3 separate regions of the Homo sapiens genome follow, and regions 1 and 2 are each linked to region 3. The links are contacts of gene promoters, found by promoter capture Hi-C in blood cells and fetal thymus (Javierre and others, 2016). All regions are on one chromosome and are shown on one strand. The core of a region is centred on a gene start or on the middle of the fragment in contact, and the rest is flanking DNA. Distances in the headings are between cores, read along the strand shown.

Evidence for each region. Contacts are between HindIII fragments. The CHiCAGO score rates a contact against its expected background, and 5 or more counts as called.
Region 1: a contact is called between the fragment with the promoter of BCLAF1 here and the fragment with the promoter of HBS1L in region 3, in 2 of 17 cell types (total CD8 T cells and fetal thymus). The highest score is 5.9, in total CD8 T cells.
Region 2: a contact is called between a fragment that was not itself captured here and the fragment with the promoter of HBS1L in region 3, in 1 of 17 cell types (fetal thymus). The highest score is 5.0, in fetal thymus.

What each region holds. Positions count from the first base shown.
Region 1 is chr6:136,288,011-136,291,203 of GRCh38, forward strand. It overlaps BCLAF1 (BCL2 associated transcription factor 1), which reads right to left and starts at 1,836. Exons shown (of 13, transcript NM_014739.3): 1 at 1,703-1,836. It overlaps LOC124901408 (a long non-coding RNA gene), which reads left to right and starts at 2,004. Exons shown (of 4, transcript XR_007059784.1): 1 at 2,004-2,147. RefSeq lists enhancers at 630-1,226, 752-871, 1,227-1,823, 1,242-1,361, 1,308-2,507 and 2 more. The HindIII fragment of the contact is 10,003 bases long and covers 1-3,193 here.
Region 2 is chr6:136,247,954-136,251,543 of GRCh38, forward strand. MTFR2 (mitochondrial fission regulator 2) reads right to left here and starts at 2,358. Exons shown (of 8, transcript NM_001099286.3): 1 at 2,023-2,358; 2 at 1,084-1,200. The coding sequence starts at 1,146. RefSeq lists enhancers at 1,808-2,027, 2,678-2,827. The HindIII fragment of the contact is 454 bases long and covers 1,525-1,978 here.
Region 3 is chr6:135,053,502-135,057,028 of GRCh38, forward strand. HBS1L (HBS1 like translational GTPase) reads right to left here and starts at 1,321. Exons shown (of 18, transcript NM_006620.4): 1 at 1,148-1,321. The coding sequence starts at 1,190. It overlaps LOC124901405 (a long non-coding RNA gene), which reads left to right and starts at 1,392. Exons shown (of 2, transcript XR_007059775.1): 1 at 1,392-1,985. RefSeq lists an enhancer at 1,480-1,529. The HindIII fragment of the contact is 2,164 bases long and covers 1-2,022 here.

The sequences.
Region 1 (3,193 bases), core at 586-3,085, 1.2 Mb after region 3:
TTCCGTCTCAAGAATCAGTCAATCAACCAGACCTGAGCCTACCAGTGAGTAGTACTTTTTACACGTCTGTCTTCAAGTCTTATACTACCACTGTTCCTCAAAGTCAAGAAGGGCTCTGGCTAAACAGCTTCCTTTGCCACCATTTTAATTATCTGAATTAAACAAGATATTTCAGTATTCACCACAATGTACTGGTTGAAACATGAAATCACTAAGAGAAGGTGCTCCAAGGTTGTTTACCATGAGCTACCTTTTTTAAGTGACAAGGTCTCGCTCTGTTGCCCCCGCTGGAGTGCAGTGGGACGAGCACAGCTCACAGCAGCCTCAAACTCCCGCCGAGGGGCCACTTTTTCCCTCCCATCAAATTACCTATCCTGAATTGGTCATGATCAAACAAAAATACAAAAGCCTTGTAGCAGTTTTTCCTACGTAAAGGTTATTTACTGCCTGAACAGTATCCTAACCATTCCAACTAAAGTCGAACTGAAATGAGAATTCACAAGAGGAACAAGAAATTTTGTTTTGCTTTGTAACACCAAAAAATTTAAAAGAGGCTGTTGCAGTGAGGTACAAGTCTGAAGTAGCTCATCTTTTTCGTCAGTGTTAGCCACACTTGCTTTCAACTTCAGTCTTAATTTGTTTCCAGTTCTAAAATGCTTTTTAAAAAAGTCTGAGGTAGCAAAGTAGCTGCTGGTACTTCAGCTTGATTCTGAAGAAATAAATCTTAAAAGCGAATCAAGCCAACTCATGAATTTAAAATGAAGGCAAAGTCCAATTCGCCACTCCCACCCATTTCTCACACCAGCTGTCCACCAATCGTGGCTGCAACATTTCTGACACGACTAAATGGGCTGAATCACTTGAAAAGACTCGGCTTCGCTAGTACTCATGAAGAACCGCACTTTCAGCCGGATGGGGCAGGGCCACGCTCAGAACCACCAGCTAAGACCCAATCCTCTCGCTAGGGAACCGTAACTAGGCAACCAGCACCAGTCAACAGCGCGCGCTCGCTTCAAAACAGCAGGTTGCCGCGGGTACCGAAATTAACTCCAGAGAACCAGGGTCAGCAGCGAGAGGCAGAACAGAGCACTAAAACCTAGTAGCATCACAAAAACGAGGCATTAACTGACGGGTGGTCTGAAGCCGGAGGGCAGTTTTAAAGACCACGCGAAAAGGGGTAGACCTACTCAACGCACTTTGCTGCGGGTCACAGTTATTTTCTCAAAACCCCACAGGCCACGAAGAAAGGTGGCAGTCCCAGCCAATGAGAGGCGGACACAAGTTGCACCTCCAGCGGCCGTCGGCGCCATAGGCGGGGGAGAGAAAAATGAACGAGCGCGCGTGCGCGGAGCGTTCAGTCGGGCGCGCGCAGAGGTACGGGCTGAAGAAATGGGGGAAGGGTGGAAGAGGAAGATATGCGCACGCGCACGGGAGGCCGCGCGGGCTGTGGGTCTCCAGGCAGGTTCGCAAACACGCGCGCGCCCGCCGTTAGCACTGCTCAGCGCCCCCGCCCGGCCTTTTCGGCCCGTAGTGCCTCGAAAACCTGAGAGAAGCTAACGAAAAAACGCATAAATAACGGCGCAACGTCTCCTTGGTTCTCCTTTCGCCGCCAACCCGACACCACCCACAAAAGAGTCAAAAATATGGCCTGTCCTCGGTCTTCACTGCCCCTGGAGTAACTTGAATACATTGCGAGGCCTACCTGACACGCCGAATCGCGGTTCCGGGAATTTATCTCCGTTGCAACCACACAGCGGCCATTTCCCGACTCAAGAACGCGAGGAAAACCATAGAGCTACCTTCGACGCGCTAGCACGTCTCCGTCACTTCCGATCTGGGGCGTGGCCTCGGGTGCCGCTAAATATGCGGGCAAGCCCCGCCCACCCTTCCGCTCCGGTCCGGCTTCCTGGCTGCTATTAAGATGTTGCCTGCGGCCTTCTGGGAAGTCGCGTGGCTGGTCTCGCGGGAAGATGTGACGGCTCCGCCCTCTGGCCCGTAGCGTCAGCCTTGGCCGGAGAGGCGGTAGAGTAGGGTGGGTGTTTTGTCAGGCCTGAGTTAGCTTCGCCATACGGCGCTTTTCGCTGGTGTCTCTGCCTCGTTCTGAGTAGACCCCCTAGACCTCACCGCCGCCCCTGCGTTTTACCTCAGTAAGCTCGTCTGGTCTGTTCTTTCTGTGGGGCCGGCTCAGACCAGGCAAAAAACAAAAAGACAATCCCACACTGAGGAAAAGACCAGGAGGCAAGACGTGGCTGTAATTGCAGACACGCTGCTCCCTCAGCCAGCAAGCGCCACTTTTCCTCTTGGACGCCTAACTGGAGATTAGAAAATGTGGCTTTTGGTTTGCTATTAAATTCGGCAGACGCACTTAGTTGAAAAATGGCCACGATCTAAATCCCTTTCGTGGCGTCTGATCAAATCGGAGCTCAAGCCGCAGCAGCCGGAAACCTCTTAGGCTGCTCGTGCCAAAGAAGGCCGCCCTTCTGGCGGCGTGATGACAGCTTTACCACATCGGCAACGTTGGCATAGGCATGAAAAAATAAAGAGCACGAAGCAGTTGAGCTTTCAGCCTGTGACGATGATTTGTGGCAGCCGAGGAACACAGCCCAACGTAGCTTGGTTGTCCAGAATTATAAGTCAGATTATAAATAGGCAAGCCACATTCGATTTGAATAGAATTTAAATAACAGCCGTAGCACATTTTGCATTAATACTTCTCCGGGCTGCACTTTCTTAGGGCCTAAAACCGCTATTGCTTTGATGTTTAGAGATGTTAACTACCTTGATGGATTTCAGACTTGTAATTAGCAACCAGGGTGTCAGTGAGTGAATCGAAACTAGGATTGGGCCCTGGTTGTGAATTTAACACTGTGCTTAGAGCATTCTTTCTTCACAGTCCAGTTTACCAGCTGAACTAGAAAAACGACAACATTTTCATGGAGTGAATCGTAGGTTTTTTATTGTACAGTCTGTCCCTCACCCCATTACCACCTCAGGATGTGGACACAGAAATCCTTGGCCTTTTTGTTGTGCCCTGATGTCCCAAGCATTCGCAGGTTCTCAGAAATATTTGTTGAGTGAATGAACTATATTTAAAAAAAAAACAACTAAGGGCTCAATACACGTCTGCTATTCTGCATGTATTGGGAGTCGGGGCGCTCCCAATACATGCTGTTATTCATTTATTCAAAATACC
Region 2 (3,590 bases), core at 502-3,001, 1.2 Mb after region 3:
TACTTATATGTTCTAACATCACCTCTGACTCACCTCATCTCCATATTCAAACTAGTTTCTCATACTAAGATGCCCATTTATAATAATGGTACTATGATTCTTCAACTTACTTTTGCTTTAAAAAAATCTTAAATTATCCTTGACTACTTTCTTCTAATTCACCCCACCCGTCTTCCTTACAATCTCATATTACAGTTATCTTTATTGTTTCTTATTCCTCATATTTTAAGCATTATGAATACAACCATGTATTACTCCTCTGTATTACCTGCAGAAACAAGCATATTGTCTTAGATACAGCAGATTTTCAACAAGTAGATAAAATTTGATTTGCTTATGATATGGTTTGGCTGTGTCCCCACCCAAATCTCACCTTGAATTGTAATTATCCTCACGTGTCAAGGGTGGGGCCAGGTGAAGATAACTGAATCATGGGGGCAGCTTCTCCCATACTATGCTCGTGGTAGTGAATAAGTCTCATGAGATGTGATGGTTTTATAAACAGGAGTTCCCCTGCACAAGCTCTCTTGCCTGCCACCATGTAAAATGTGACTTTGCTACTCATTTGCCTTCAGCAATGATTGTGAGGCCTCCCCAGCCATGTGGAACTGTGAGTCAATTAAACCTCTTTCCTTTATAAATTACCCAGTCTCCGGTATGTCTTTATTAGCAGCATGAGAACAGACTAATACAGCTTATAATTCTCAGGCCTAAATCATCCTCTTTCCATTAGATTTATTCTGGATTTATTGAGCTTTAAATATTGAACTTGTTTATAAATTACCTTGAATAGAAGTTTTAATGTATCTGTGCAATAAATGTAATTCTGTGAAGCTCATGTCTATATTTTGCTTCCTTTGTATCTTCTGTTGGCATTTGTCCTATCAGGTAAATATGTTCTCAATAATCTTATCCCTCTTCTAACTCAAATCATCAAAGCTATACTATTACAAACTCACCTTTGTTCCAACTAAAAAGAAGCAACAACTTTGCCTTAAATCAAATGATTACATATAAGTCATTTTCAAAATGAAACCCAAGAACAAATACAACAGATCCATTCCAATCCAAAACGACATTTACCTGTTCTACAGGAACGCCAAAATATTCCAGCATCTCTCTTAAGATATTCAGTATGAGAGACATTGATGAAGCAAATACAGAAGCCAATTCAAAGGAACATTATCAGTTTCTTGGTGCCTTTGGGGAAAATTTTAGAAAATGTTACTCTTGACAAATAAATGCCAAATTGTACTACATAACCTGGAAAAGTCCTCTTGATACACGACACAGTCAACTAATTTCTCCTAGCCAGCATTCTTTTAAGTCAGAGAAAAAGAAAGGAAGGGGAAGTCTGGGGGAAAGAGAGGGTTGTAAAGGAAATTTCAATTAATTGGTTAGATTACATTAAAACCTCGTAGGATGTTTGAGCCTAGTTAATAGAGACCAATCAACAAACTGGACATCTACTTAGTAGGCAAGGCTTCAAGTTACATGCCACAGCGAAGCTCGCTCTTTCCTGAAAGCTTTGGGCTGAGACTCTTAGCAGATGGGTGAGTTTAGCCAACCCTTGAAAGCAGGCAAGGGACGACTCAGTTTTTAAAAAAATAAACAGTAGCTCTTCTCACACACATATCCTCACGTGTCAAGGGTGGGGCCAGGTGAAGATAACTGAATCATGGGGGCAGCTTCCCCCATACTATGCTCGTGGTAGTGAATAAGTCTCATGAGATGTGATGGTTTTATCAACAGGAGTTCCCCTGCACAAGCCCTCTTGCCTGCCACCATGTAAAATGTGACTTTGCTACTCATTTGCCTTCAGCAATGATTGTGAGGCCTCCCCAGCCATGTGGAATGCCCATCCCTCCTCACTCTTTTAAAATGAGAAGCATGAATTCCAGATACGGGACGTGACTTGGTCACCCATCTAGTAACAGGCCGTGACCAGAGCCGGATCGCGTCCCTCGCTTTGGTCACAAGCTTCCTGGTGCTCTCCAAACACAGCGTGGTAGCCTTGCTCACCTTCCTCCGAAGCCGAGCCCCCGGGAATCACCAGAACATCAAGCGGAGGGCGTTAGGAATCCTCAATCAAATTCCAGACTGCGCCACTCCTTGTGCAGATCGCTCAGACGTCTACCCAGACCTCGACCCAGTTTCCACCCGCGCGCCTCGGCTTGCAGCCACAGGCGGTAACGATGCCCTCAGCGAGGAATAAGAGGTCAACCCGGTGCCCAGCCCTGGAGCCTCACGCTCAGCCAGGGTAATGTTATGGGAAGCGCGCCCCCGTCCTCCTGCGCCCAACCAACCCACCTGCTAGTCCCTAGGACCGGACTGCTACTTCCGCATGACAGGACTGCTACTTCCGCATCCCAGGACGAAATCAAACTCCGCGGGCCAGGACCCGTAACCAGCCTCATTGGGCAAAACTGAAGATCGCTGCTTCTGATTGGTCATTGCATGATGTCAGGCAATTCGGGAAGCGACTGCTTTTCCTTCTCAAGAGGCGGGTCTTCCGAGAGTCAGCCAATAGGAGCTGACGGGCAGGGCAGGTCGCGTTAGGACAGCGTCGCTCCCGCAGGGCAAGGTTTTAGGTACAAACTCGTGAGCTGGACTCGCAGTCCGGAGTTCGTACCCCACAGAACTCTTCGCAGGGAGTGTCTTACTCGCTACAGCCGGACCCTAAGCGCATCCGCCTTCCCAAGTTCATCTGACACAAAATCGCGATTTATTTTTTGGTCATTTCATTTGTTCAGCTAATATTAAAATACTTGTGGAACTGGCAGAAGCCAAGCACTACCCCCGAGGGTTTTGCAGCTTTGCAGTGGCTAGGATTCATTCTTTCGTTCACTAAATACACCTACGTATCCAGGCTACCGAATATTGGGCCGGACACTCTCCTGGCTTAGCCGAGGATGGCAAGTGATATGACAGGTGATATCCCAGTTTTCATTTCTGATTTGAGGTTATTGGCTTCATACGAAATAGCTTCCTCTTCTGAATTTCAGCAAGACGTGCACTGGAGTGATATAACAATTTAAGATGTGTGCCTGCTACTGACATAATTTGAAAATCTAAGTTTTGAACTAATTTATCTATGGTCAACATCACTTATTCATTCAACCAATAATAGATATCTACTACGTAGCAGACACCATTCTAAGCACGGAAAATACCTTAATGAGAGGGCAGGTCCTCGTCCTCCTGGAGCTTACAGGCCAGCGGGGCATCTCGTTCCATTCTAACCCTAATTTGCTTTTCTCTATAGCACTTATCATATATATTTAGTTACGCTTCCACTACCACCAAACAAAATTGTAGACTCCAGGAGAACAGGAAGTTGTTTTGATCCATGCTCTATCTTTCCCCAGTGCTTTAGAAGAGTGTCTGGTATATAATAGGCATTCAGTCTATTTGTTGAATAAAATACCTAAATGTGGAATGACAGAAAAGATGATAATGATTTGGGACTAAGCAACTAGCAAAACAATTGATAGCAATAATAGTGATATGCCCAGTAGAGCTGGATACGGCTGAGTGAGCGCAGAACAAGGATGATGATGGATCAGAAACCCTAGATGGAGTAATTTTCT
Region 3 (3,527 bases), core at 71-2,570:
TAGGTGACAATGGTCCACATGCAATACCATCCACTGCAATATTTATTTAAAAGGGCCTCCATTCTAAAGTAACCACCAGAAAATTCACATGTTCTAGACGGACTGAGGTCACAGGTTCCAAATGGAGAACAGGGTGTTAGCTGCCCTCACTCTAGTTAAAGCATACTGATGTTCTATAATAATCTACTGGGGTGCCAATGACAATCACCAACATATTAAGCACTACATGTTCTGCACTTCGTAAAGCATAGTTCTTTATTCTTCTCCTGCATTAGTTCATTTTTGTTTATATTTTTAGTTTATGTGATGCTTGGTGATGCCTATAGTTATCTACTGCATGAAGAGGGATGTGCTCCTCCTAAAAATAATTCTAACTCCTGTTAACTCCTACAGAACATTCATACAGACATTTTTATTTCATTTTTTAATATCAAAAAGTCCTTTCCTATACACTCTTTCCTCTAGTACTGCCGTTTATTTACATTTCAAAATACATTTATATCAAGCATTACCAGCCAAGAACTAAGTATAAACTTCAAGATCCATCTGATCGACTCATTCTTTGGGCCTTTTTAACATGTGTCTTTTCTACCGTCTCCTAAGTTTCCACTTTGAAATTCGTTGAAAAATAAATTAGCGCAAACTGATTCTGCACTAGGTATGTATGGACATACACAAAAGGTTTACCATGTAAATCTAACACAGGTACACGTCCGTTGAATGTATTAAGTCAATCTGTGTTTTACAAATAAGCAACGTTTCATGGACATTTCTCAAAGGGGATCTGGGAGAGAGGAGCTAGAAGCAGGCACGTTAGTGCCCAACATGGGAGGAAACAATGGAAGAGGTGATAATGCTTACGTGCCTAAATATCACCGGATCTCAACCTCACCAATATCCTACCCATATGACGCTATGCAGCACCTCCCCCTCCCCAAATAAAATCAACCCCAGAGGGCAGAAATCATGACTTAAAAACGACGGCATTTGAAAGCACTAGAAGGCCTGTTATATTCCCCAACTGGGGCTCTCCCAATCCCGACAGGGCAACACTGACGAGAAACTCACAGATTGAAGTGGATGCCAACGGGCTAGGATCCCAGCTGTAGCCGGGAAAAGAACGTCCCGGCATGACCCTGCCACCTACCTTCATCGTAGTTATAGCCTCGAACATTCCGATGCCGGGCCATGACGGCGGAGAGGGCGTTTGCCACAGCCCCTTAACTCCTTCCAAAACACTCCGCTTAGATACTGATAAGGCGCCAACTGCAGCCTGGAGAACCCCTATGCGCCATCTTGGCTTCCCGCAGGCCTCTGCGCCGAGCGCCTGCGCAAGCGCGACGTCTTAGCTGTGCACCGCGCGACGGCAATGCCTCAGGGTCACTGTCCGCCTCCCTGAGGGCGCATGCGCACTGCTGTGCATGGCGGGACGAGGGGAGGGAGCGTTTGGGAGTGGCCCCACCCAAAGGTTGGGCGACGGAGGGGGATGGGGAAATCCGCCGCCTAGAATTGACTGGTTTGGACTAAATGTTGCAAGCGGGGAACCTTGAGCTACCTACGCCAGCGTTCTGGATTATTTTCCAAATTTGGTTCCTGATAATCTGAGAAAGCTATGCGCTCAGTAAGAGCAGGGACCTTGTTTTATCAAACTTTGATCTTTCATTAAGCACACAGTGGGCATTCAACAAACTTGTGTAAACTTGGAATCAGATTTAGCCCAGGCCGGTGCGGTGGCTCCTTCCTGTAATCCCAGCACTTTGGGAAGCCTAGGAGGGCGGATCGCTTGAACTCAGGTGTTCGAGACCAGCCTGAGCAACATAGCGAGGCTCCGTCTCTACAAAAAATACAAACACTAGCCGGCCCTGTGGTGCAGACCTGTAGTCCCAGCTACTGAAGAGGCTGAGGTGGGAGGATCCCCTGAGCCCAGGCGGTCGAGGCTGCAGTGAGCTGAGATCGGGCCTCTCCATTCCAGCCCGGGCGACAAAGTGAGTGAGACCTTATCTCAAAAAAAAAAAGAGTCCAAGCTTTAGAGAAGGAAATAAGGCTATTTTTAAACGGGTATATATTATTAAATTGAGACCCTGGCTATATTAGGTCACCCTGCATTCATATAATTTACGACTTCATGTATTCACTCCGTTCGGCATTACTATCCCTAGTAAACAGCGATTTGCCCTTAGCTATGTAAACGATTTTAGCTATATAGACGATATTTATCAGCATCATAAAGAAGGATTCACTGAACATTCATTGAAGACATAATTGTGTGTAACATTGCGAGTATTAAATATAGCTTTTTAGACATAGCACTGGCCTTAGGTGGTAATGCTGAATGTTGTTGATGCATGAATCTATAACCTGCTATTAAATGTCCTCATTTCTCAGAACATAAAGTTAATAATGCTATATAAGAAACCAACCTCATTATACTGAACACCACTTCAGTTTTAGCTTGTGTTTTTGAAATGATGATACTTCACATCAAAGGCAAATGTTGAGTTCTAGAGATAATTAAAAGCTTCCTCAGCTTTTTGCTATGCACAATAGAAAGAAATAAGAGTAATCCAAATTTAGTTTATATTTGTAAGTGGCTTGGAACGTAATTTATTCATGCATTTGAATGTGTTTGACTACAAAAATAGTTGTTTAATGTGGCTCCAAAATAAAAGTTTACAGAAAAATAGAGATAGTTGCTAATGTTACATGGCTTAAGTGTTTTTATTATTTTACACCCTTAGGTAATTTTTATTTTGCAGCCTGTTTCTTTGTAAAAAGGAGATAGAGACACTAACTCGCGAGCTGTGAATAATGTATCCGTATAAGAGGATTTATCACAGATCATAGTAGGTGCTTAAAAATATTGTGTTATTGGCCGGGCGCGGTGGCTGACTCCTGTGATCCCAACACTTTGGGAGGCTGAAGCAGGCGGATCATGAGGTCAAGAGATCAAGACCATTCTGGCCAACATGGTGAAACTCCCTGTCTACTAAAAATACAAAAATTAGCTAGGCATGGTGGCGCGTGCCTATAGTCCTAGCTACTCGGGAGGCTGAGGCAGGAGAATCGCTTGAACCCGGGAGGCAGAGGTTGCAGTGAGCTAAGATTGTGCCACTGCACTCCAGCCTGGAGACAGAGTGAGACTCTGCACCCCCCCAAAAAAATTGTGTTATTAAAATACAAATGGCAGCTTCCACTCCACTGTAATTGTCAATTACAAGCTTAACTACAACTCACTGAGGTATGAAGTGAATGAGTTATAGACCACATAAGCAAAGTACTACAGGAACAATGAATAAGAAAACGTTACTTCTGTCAGATAATATATAATTTGCCCTTAGGTCGTCAATAACGCACTCCTTTAAAACTCTAAATATTGCACAGCATCTACTGCATCTCAAACAGTAGAGCCTCAATGGCAAAGCCTTCACTGACTTCTTCAGAAAAAGTTAGGATTGTTCCACTCCCCTCAGGACTCTGTAAGGTGTGGGCAGGGCACCGTGGCTCACGCCTGTAATCCCAGCACTTTG